2 separate regions of the Homo sapiens genome follow, and region 2 is linked to region 1. The links are contacts of gene promoters, found by promoter capture Hi-C in blood cells and fetal thymus (Javierre and others, 2016). All regions are on one chromosome and are shown on one strand. Each heading gives the region's core, a stretch centred on a gene start or on the middle of the fragment in contact. The rest is flanking DNA. Distances are from core to core; before and after follow the strand shown. Region 1 holds the start of SLC30A2 (solute carrier family 30 member 2). Region 2 holds the start of MTFR1L (mitochondrial fission regulator 1 like).

Region 1 (4,855 bases), core at 1,577-4,076:
GCCCCTCTACCACATCACAGCTCCTCTTTCTGATTGGGGCAGCGGAAAGAGGAGCGGTCAATTTTTTTGTTTTTTTGACAATCACATACTTGTTTTTCTTTATGGTTTGGTCTCCTAAAGTATCCTCCCATAGAAAACTGAAGGGATTTGAGTCCAGAAGGAGAAATTTGAGGCCAGAAAGAGAGAGGTTTTCATCACCTTGAAATCACAAGAATCAGTATTATAACGTGTGTATGTTCTGTTACTTCTCCAGGCTACTGATCATGTAAGCAGCAAGCATTTCAGCCCCGTATCTTGTCACTTATGGAAGAGAAGAGAGAGCAGTTGAGACTTTGGGTAATCAGTTAAAGATTAAATTCCAGGAAGATACCTGTTAATTGCAACTAAGGGGATCTTTCCTTTGCCATAGGAAGGGCTCTTCCTGTACTTGCAAACTAGAACCCTTAAGATGGTATGAAGGGTTCTTGATCAACATGCTTCCTTTAAAATCATGCTGCAAGAGAGGACAGCTGGCTTCAAGGGGGTTCTTTCAATGAATCTTGAATACAGCTCCATGGGCTGCTACATCAGAATTGCCAGGAAAGGTTTATTTTTCCCCAAGTCTTTAATTCTGAAACTTTTTTTTTTTTTTTTTTTAGACAGAGTTTCACTCTTGATTGCCCACGCTGGAGTGCAATGGCATGATCTCGGCTCACTGCAACCTCTACCTCCCGGGTTCAAGTGATTCTCCTGCCTCAGAATTCTGAGTAGCTGGGATTACAGGCGCCTGCCACCATGCCTGGCTAATTTTCTTATTTTTAGTAGAGACGAGGTTTTGCCATGTTGACCAGGCTGGTCTCGAACTCTTGACCTCAGGTGATCCGCCTGCCTCAGCCTCCCAAAGTGCTGGGATTATAGGCGTGAGCCGCCGCACCCAGCCAACATTTTTTAAATACTGAAAAGTAGAGGGAATAGTTATAGTGTACCCCATTTACCCATCACTCAGTTTCAACAGCTGGTGACATATTTATTTCTTCTATACCAGTACCGTACTCTCCCCACTGGGATTATTTTAAGGCAAAACCCAGATGACATTTTATCCCTAAATACTTTAGATAAAGGTGTTCTTTGAAAAAAATCATAACCTCAGGACCAGCCTGGCCAACATGGTGAAACCCTGTCTGTACTAAAAATACAAAAATTAGCTTGGCATGGTCGTGGGCACCTGTAATCCCAGCTACTCAGGAAGCTGAGGCAGGAGAATCACTTGAATCCGGGAAGCAGAGATTGCAGTGAGCTGAGATTGCAGTCGAGCCTGGGCGACAGAGACAGAAATGAAACTCTGTCTCAAAAACAAACAAACAAAAAAACCACTATACATAAAAATGAACAATGATGCCACAATAGCACCAGAGAATTTTATAAATACAGATTCCCAGGCCCTGCCCCAGACCTACTGAATCCTGGAAATATTCAGGCTCCACACCCAGAGATTCTGGTTCGGTTGGTCTGATGCAGGGACCTGTAACCTGCGTTGTAACACCTTCTCCAGGTAATGCTGAGCCTGCTGGTGCTCAGAGTAGACAGACCTGGAGAAAACCAGGGTGTCTGAGGTTTTCCAGAAGAAAACCAGAGTCCAGAGAAGCAGAGAGGCACTCAGTGAGGACCCAAGCAGAGCGGGTGCACCTCACATCCTCACTCCTGGCACCCCGTCTCCTACAAGATGAGAGACTGAAAGAGCCCCTTCCTGTCCCCAGTGGTGTGGGCAAGAGGCCTGCACCTCTGACTCTTGGCTCTGTGAAAGGCCATACCCACCAAGCCTATGGTCCTAGCGACAAAGGGTGCTGGGGAGACGAATTGACCAGACAGGGAGGTCTCCAGCAGCTTCTTTCTACACAGAGGGCACCTGTCAGAGGCCAGCGTGGGGGCCACAGGCTCCCCAATCCCCAAGAACCGCCAGGGAAGGAGGCTGCTTCAAGTGGGTGGGGCACCAAGCTGGCCAGGAAGGACAGGGCTTCTCCCAGCGGTACCAACACGGTGGCACCTCCGGCCTGCATCTCCCAGGCTTGCTTGTCAGGCTTCCTGGGGCTCCCAGGAGCCGCTGCGGGGGAGGGGAGAAGGGGTGGCAGCAGTGGCAGTGGTCGTCTCTGCTCCGATGGTGACTGCCGATGACACTGTTCTCTGTGCGGGTGGAGACAAAGCCGGCCACTCCAGATTCTCCTGCGCGCAGGAGAGGAGGAGCTGGCGCTGCTTCAGTGGCGAGGATGGGTCGATCAGTCCCAGCCGGTCCTAGGGAGAGACACTGCCCCAGCCTGAGGGCGGCGCAGCCCACCCCACCCCAGGACCCTCCTAGCAGGAGGACAGGAACGCAAGCCGACCTCGGGGGGTCTCCGGCCTGAGAGGGGAACATGATCAAGCCCAGGGCAGCCGCCAGTCGGAGGGGGCAGACGCGGCCCCAGTAGCCTCTGGAGACCCTCTTCCGAGGCAAGGAGCCACATTCCTGCCGTCGGGACCACCAAAGCGGATTTCTACAAACTAAAGTCGAGAACTTTTCGGCGGCGAGGCGGCGCACCCCGCGCGGGAGAGGGGGCGCAGGCGTCACCCCGTCCTCACTCAGCAACACCCGGCGCCGCGCCGGGCGAAGGCTGGCAAACTTCTCGCGGCCGGCAGGTGGGCTCCGCGGGCCCCATGGGCGCAGGCACAGGTGTGCGGGGCCACAGCCGGGCCTTTTGCAGCCGGCGACCGCCCCCCCTTCCCCGCGGGCTTTTGCACACGACGCGCCGACGGCAGCTTCACACGGGTTGGCGAGGGCCGGATAAAGCCGGCGGCCGCGGGGCGCAGCGGCTGACCCGAGACACGGGAGCGCTTGGCACGCGGAGCCAGAGCCGGAGCTGCAGCCGCAGCGGGAGCCGGGGGAGCTCAGGGGCCGCAGGAGCCGGGCCGGAGTGAGCGCACCTCGCGGGGCCCTCGGGGCAGGTGGGTGAGCGCCACCCGGAGTCCCGCGCGCAACTTTCAGGGCGCACTCGGCGGGGCGGCTGCGCGGCTGCCGGGACTCGGCGCGGGACTGCATGGAGGCCAAGGAGAAGCAGCATCTGTTGGACGCCAGGCCGGCAATCCGGTAAGGCGAGAGCCTGGGGACGGGCGGGAATTTTGGCGGCAGCCGACGCACCTCCGCATTTGCCATCCTAGCAGTGGTTGGTTTTGGCTGCGGCTTGAGCTGGGACCATGCAGGAGGGGTGGGGTGAGGTGAGGGAACGAAGATAATGGGCTGTGGCCCAAGGACCGTCTCTCCCTTGGGGCGCAGCCCAGATTCTGACCCCTGCCCGCGGGGGGCCTGGGGCCGGGGGATTGGCGGTTCCCATGCCTGGAGTCCCGCCCCGCCCAGCACTTTGCCCCAGGCAGCCCCGCCCCGGGGAGGCCCTGTGTCCCAAGTGCGCTGGAGGGGGCCTGCTGTTCTCCCAGAGCCTGCGCTCTGTTCCTTCCCCGCGCTCCACTGGACAGCACGCCCCTTGGCCGGTTCCCAGGGTCTTCACCTCCTCTGGCCTCTGAAGGGCCCCGGGCCCCAGGACTCCCATTCCCCTATCATCCCCGTCTGAATACAGGCTTCTCACCTCTGGTTTGTCGAGCTCGGAGCGTCCTTAGCTATTTTTCCCAGTGGACACAAGGCCTCACAGAGAAATGGGACTAGAGTCGGCCCTCCTTACCTCATCTCAGAGCTGAGCGTTCCCTCTCTTCCCCTCTGGCCAGGTCATACACGGGATCTCTGTGGCAGGAAGGGGCTGGCTGGATTCCTCTGCCCCGACCTGGCCTGGACTTGCAGGCCATTGAGCTGGCTGCCCAGAGCAACCATCACTGCCATGCTCAGAAGGGTCCTGACAGTCACTGTGACCCCAAGAAGGGGAAGGCCCAGCGCCAGCTGTATGTAGCCTCTGCCATCTGCCTGTTGTTCATGATCGGAGAAGTCGTTGGTAAGCACTTTTGGGCTAATTAAATGAAGTTGGTGCATGGATAGACTGGATGTTCCCAGCAATACTGACACTAAAAGCCCCAATTACTGAACACACACTACAGTAAGCCTTTATATACACATTATCTGATGCAGGTCTAACAACAACCTGTGTTCTCACATGGGTGACGTTATTCTCCTTACTTTACAGATGATGAAACTGAGGCATGTTCAGGTGAAGTAACTTGCCAAAGATCACGCACAACTCGTAGCTAAGGGAAGGCCTGAATTCCTAGAAGGGAAGAGCATTTACTGAGTATCTGCTATGTTTTCCAGTCCCTATTTGAACTTGATGTGCACATTCACCCTCTAAGTAGATATTGGTGGCCCATTTCACAGAGAGTGGAAGTTGAGGCTCAGAGAGAGTAGGTCACTTGTCACGGTGGTACAGCTCATGGGTAGAGAGATCTTGAGCCCAGAATGTCCTCTTCCAGAGCCTGTGGTCTCCCTGCTGCACACACAGTCTTGGGAGCCAGCTCTCTGGGGGAGCTGATAAGGACCCTCCACCCTGCAGGTGGGTACCTGGCACACAGCTTGGCTGTCATGACTGACGCAGCACACCTGCTCACTGACTTTGCCAGCATGCTCATCAGCCTCTTCTCCCTCTGGATGTCCTCCCGGCCAGCCACCAAGACCATGAACTTTGGCTGGCAGAGAGCTGGTGAGGATCGCGGTTTGGCTGGAGATGGGGTTGAGAGAGAGGGTGGGTTAGAACAGGGGTTCTTAGGTGGCTGTAATGGGTGGATCCCCCCTTCCTCCCCTGAGTGAGGCCAGGAGGGTGATCTGGATGGGGGAAGAGGATGTCAACCATGGCCTCTGTCCTCTGGGAAATCCTAGTCTGATGGGGGAGCCCTGGTCCCAGTCATCCAG
Region 2 (4,855 bases), core at 1,302-3,801, 230 kb after region 1:
GGCCAACCCAAGAGCCTTCCTGGGCTCTCAGGTTTCTTGAGGCAAAACTTCTAAAGATGCAAATAGAATCCTTGGTAGCTACAAAGCTCATCTAGCCAAATTATAAGTACTATCCAAGCCCAGGATTCATTCTTGAAGATGAGATGTAAAAGCACTGCTGGGCCCTTGCAAAGGGAGAGATCAGAGAAAATAGGAGAACGAACACCAGCTCATGCCAATCTCAGTCTCATGAGCTACAGAGAAAAAGAGCCAAAAAAGTTTATCCTGGCTCAGCCACCTTCTGGCTTTGTAGCTACAGGCAAGTTATTTAACTTTTCTGAATGTTGGTTTTTCCATCTGGAAAAAGGAGACAGGAAAAGCTGCCACTGGAGGCTACCTTAAGGGTCAATGAGTGAAATGGGGTTGAGTGCTTAATGAACTGTTAAAACATGACACAGATGGGTGAGGTGACATCTGACTGCTCTTCACAGCAGTCCTTGCATGGTGAGCAGATGCAATCAGTGTGCTCGTTCATTCACTTGTTCATCAAACACCAACAGTACCCACTTGTGCCAGGCCTTGTGCTGGGCACCGTAGGGGCTATGGAAGGAGTAAGACACAGTCATGCTCTCAAGGAACTCGCTGTCCAGCAGAGTGATAGGACATGAATACATACTTCTAGCAAAGGCTGAGTAGCATTAGGCAGGTGGCCAGATGAGGTCAGAGCTCTGGCCCTAGTGCCCTGTAGTAAGTTGCGAGGGAGTAGGAAATGAAGACAAAACAGCAAGAGCACAGGTCCAGCACAAGAAGGTGAAGGACATGGAAAGAGGAGCAGAGCATGATAAAGCTACAAAAGTAGGGGGCAAGTCATGAGGTCCGGGTCACTGGGGAGCCCTGGACAGGCTCTGAATGGGAGATAGACTAGACTGACAAAGCAGCTCTTTCTGGAGACCTCCTGTGGAGGGTCCCCTCTTCTACCCTTGGGAGACGAGGTGTCATTCACTTCACGATACACATGGGGAAAGGAAGTTGGACAGGGGAAGGCACTTGTCTAAGGTCACTCAGTGGTCATGCCAGTGCAAAGCACCCAAAGCCTGGTCCAGGTCCTGCCACCTCCTGCGTGGGCTCCATCTTCTCGGCTCAGTTCAAGCCTTTATTATCAGAGTCCCTCTGTGTGCCAGGCTCTGTGCTGAATGTCCGTGTCGGCCACAAATTGCACTAACGGTGCTTACTGCCACTTCCTCTCCGACCTTACCTCCAAAGACCCAGCCGGGCCTAACCCTCACACACAGCCAGAGGAATCCTTCCCAAACACAGTTAATCACATCGCTCATCCGTTTAAAACTGGCTTACTAGAGCCAACACAGGATAAAATCCACAATCAGTCCCAAACCCATCTTTCTCTGCCGTCTCTAGACCACATTCACTGAGCACCAAGGCCTGCACGCTTCGCAGCCAGCCCTCCTGCTCTCCCCCTTGCCCTCCAGCCACACTGGCCCTCAACCCCCAACACTGGGCCCACCTCTGAGCCCTGCATCAAACACCAGCACCCCCTTCGCCGAGCTCATTCTTCATCATTCCTCAGAGCTCAGCTTAAGCATCACCTTCCTTCCCTGCGACAGGGTCAGGTCCTTTCCTGTGCGCTCCGCAGCACCCTGCCTGTCCCTCGGAGTCCTCGCGAGAGGAACTAGATAACTGTGATCCCCGCGCACAGCACGGTGTCTGCCTAGGACACAGTGAGCGCTTCAACGCGCTGAACTAAACGAATGAAGGGGAACACCAACTCAGCTGTCACCCCCGCCCCCAAGTGTCACTGGCTAGAAGATCTTCCCCCGGTTCGCCGGCAGCACCGGTGGGTCTTGTCACCTCTGCGCCCCGCAGCCCTCCGGAGGCTGCAGTTGCTGTCTGCTGACAGGCGTCCCCTCAGGAGAACGGGAGCTCCTCCAGCGCAGGGCCCTGCTCAGCACCCCTGGTCCCGGGGGCCCCCACGGAGGCCGCCGCGCTCAGTGAAACTTTGCCGCGCGCAGCAGTGGCCGGAGACCCGCGCGGACCCTCTCCCCGCGGGGACCCGCCAGGGCGAGTCGCCCCTCCCCCGCGGCAGACGACCCGACCTGGGCCAAGGTCGGCCAAGTGCTCGCCGCCTGCCCAGCGGCCCTTGGACCCACAGGACCCGGACCCGAGTGCGCGGAAGCCTCCGAGCCGCGGCCAGGTCTCAGAATGCGCGGCGGGGCAGCCCGGCCCGTCAAGCAGCGAAGCCGAAACTAGAAGCCTGAGGTCTGGCTTGGTCACTGTTTGCTGGGGAACTCCGACGAGCAACTACCCTTCGGGGACTCAGTTTCCCCCGGGCCAAGTGAGACGGACAGCTGCGGCTCCCGCGAGAACTCGCGCGGGAACAGGAGCTGCGGGCTCCGCACAGCGCCCGGCACGTAGACCCAGTCTACTAACGGGCTGGAAGGTCGCGCTCCCGCCTCCGCGCCTCCCTAGAACCTTTCTCACCTCAAGCTCGGGCTCCCGGACTCTCTCACCTCACGGCCCCTCCTTCCACCTTGGGCCGCCCAGCCTCAACCGCCCTCACTTCCGCTGACCCGCCCCCCGGAAGCGATCCTCCGCAGCTGCGCACCGAGGCGCACCTCCGCGCACCCTCAGGAGGCGGGTCCAGCTCGGTGGCGAGGGGAGCGCGGCCCCCGAGTGGGCGAGGCGCTGGCGGCTGTAGGCTCCGATACCGCGGAGCACACTCCCCTCCATCGAGACCGTGCCCCCGCGGGGTCTGTGTCCCCGGGAGGAGTTGGCTGCGTTTGGAGATCCCTCGGCCTGGTATTCGTCGCGTCTCCCTGCTTGTTGCTCTCCACGTTTAGCCCCATCCGACTTCTGGAAGCCCAGGGGTGTGTCGCTCGACCCCTAAAATATGCTCCTACCCCTAGGGCAAACTTCAGAATCCTCACCCTGGCCCCCTTCCCAGTTCTTGGTTCCCAGGCAGGTCCCTTTGCAAAGCCTCTCTCCAGCAAGAATGCGCAGAATGGGCCTCTTTCTCCTCTTGACTCCTGCCCTCCAGCACTTTGCAGCTTTCTTCTATTTTAGCCTCTCTCTCTCTCTCTCACACACACACACACACACACACACACACACACACACACACACGGTATATTCAATGAGTTTGCTTATTAGATGGGTACTTGATGTACAAGACTCCAGAGGCTCTGTGGGAAGAGCCACATTCCTTCCAGGCTCACTAACCCACTCCCTCTTTGTGCTCCAGCCCTCACTGTCTTGGTCTGTGGCATGCAGTTCCTGGGTCACATTTCCTTCTCTGCCTTCAGCACAGCCTCGGGCTGTGCCTGGCTCCCAGGCTGGAGTTCCTTGGTTCCAAAGCCTGCAGTCCCCTCTGCCAGAGACAGAGCTGGTTTCATGGGTGAACAGCCCATGCAGTCACAACGGGCCGCATGCTCAGAATCCTGTACTTGGTTTAGTACTTTGCTGTTGCCGTCTTGAAATGATTTTCTAATAGGGGTTCTTGTGTTTTCATTTTGCACGGGGCTGTGCAAATTATGTGACTGGTCCTGGCTAGAGACCTCAGAGGTCGTCCACCCTGATCTCCACCATATCTCAAACGCTGAAGATTGACTTCCAGGTCTGGCCCTCTTCCCAGGATGGCACATTGTGTTTTAATCATTACCTTTCCCTCCTGTGCGATGGCGGATCATGCAAGTCCACGCTGGCTGTCTGTCCTGGGTGTAGATGCTGATTTGGTGTCCCACTCAGATCCCCTTGCAGGAAGAACGGAGCTCCCTACCTGGGAATTTCCTTCACCTCCCAAGCCAATGACTGATAAAAGGTCCAAAAGGCCAGTTCAGCTCTGCAGTGTGGTTTATGCCCCACAGCTCTTCCACTGTGGGTCAGGCCAAGGCTGGGCTGAGACTGTTCCTGCTCAGCATTTTTCCTTTCCCTCTTCTGCTTCCTTCCTTCTTTTACTGGTTTTTCTGGAAGTACACTCCCCCCCAGCCCCACCAAACAAACAAAACAAACAAACAAAAAAACACTTCATGCCTGTCTCAGGCTCTGCTTTTAAGACAATGATTTTAACTCCCAGATCTCTCTCAACAGAGAGCACCAGATTCTCAAAACAGTAAGTCCTACCACTTGTTCTATCGTAAAACTTATTTTGGGCAAGTCACTCAAGCCTTCGATAGGTAAGATAGTACCTGAAAGCATTCCAGCTCAACTCTGCCCCAAGAGGGAGCCACCCCATGGAAGGACGGAGCTGAGCAACATGCCACTCAAAGGAAAAGCACTTAGAACCACTCTAGTTAGTCTTCTCTAATTTTATTACAGGGCATGTTGGGGACAGGGGAGGGAAGTGTTAGAGGAGTGACAGGGCAGCCCGGGGCCCTCTCCCACCCTGAGCCTCGAGGCCTGGTGGGGGACATGAACTGCAGAGGCATCAGATAAGGCCTCAGAAAGCCCAGGCCATCATTTTCCATGGGACCAGGCTGGCTCAATGTGGAACTGGCCCTCCCAGAGCAGCAGGAGAAGGGCTCGCATGGGCTGCCCCCGTCACCTGTGCCTGACAGGATGGGGGGGGAGGCAGAGAGAGAGCATCAGACGCCCTCCCTCCCCATAAGGGGCATGGGGGATGGGGACACTTCCTCCCAGGACACAGGGAGCCTGGCTGAGCTGGCTGGCTCATGCCCCATCTGGTCTGGAGGTCAGAGGGGAGTGAGACACTCTGGTTTGAAAGGCCTTCCTTTCCACTTTGGGGAAAACAGGCAGGGAGAGAGGTGAGGGTGCCATGCCAAAAAACACCCCCAAATCCAGATGCAGACTTTGGAGCCACATGTGGGTTTGAATCTCAACTCTACCTGAGTGACCCTGGGCAAGT

Evidence for each region. The method cuts DNA at HindIII sites, captures the fragments that hold promoters and counts their contacts. A CHiCAGO score of 5 or more calls a contact.
Region 2: a contact is called between the fragment with the promoter of MTFR1L here and the fragment with the promoter of SLC30A2 in region 1, in 1 of 17 cell types (neutrophils). The highest score is 7.6, in neutrophils.

Annotation. Positions count from the first base shown.
Region 1 is chr1:26,044,089-26,048,943 of GRCh38, reverse strand. SLC30A2 (solute carrier family 30 member 2) reads left to right here and starts at 2,826. Exons shown (of 8, transcript NM_001004434.3): 1 at 2,826-3,097; 2 at 3,727-3,947; 3 at 4,500-4,646. The coding sequence starts at 3,048. LOC105376910 (a long non-coding RNA gene) reads right to left here and starts at 686. Exons shown (of 2, transcript XR_001737948.2): 1 at 1-686. RefSeq lists an enhancer at 3,227-3,795. The HindIII fragment of the contact is 10,541 bases long and covers 1-4,855 here.
Region 2 is chr1:25,817,650-25,822,504 of GRCh38, reverse strand. It overlaps MTFR1L (mitochondrial fission regulator 1 like), which reads right to left and starts at 2,551. Exons shown (of 7, transcript NM_001099625.2): 1 at 2,476-2,551. It overlaps LOC646471 (a long non-coding RNA gene), which reads left to right. Exons shown (of 1, transcript NR_024498.1): 1 at 1-2,551. SELENON (selenoprotein N) reads right to left here. Exons shown (of 12, transcript NM_206926.2): 12 at 4,284-4,855. RefSeq lists enhancers at 1,756-1,845, 2,226-2,365, 4,008-4,508 and silencers at 1,956-2,125, 2,576-2,765. The HindIII fragment of the contact is 17,718 bases long and covers 1-4,855 here.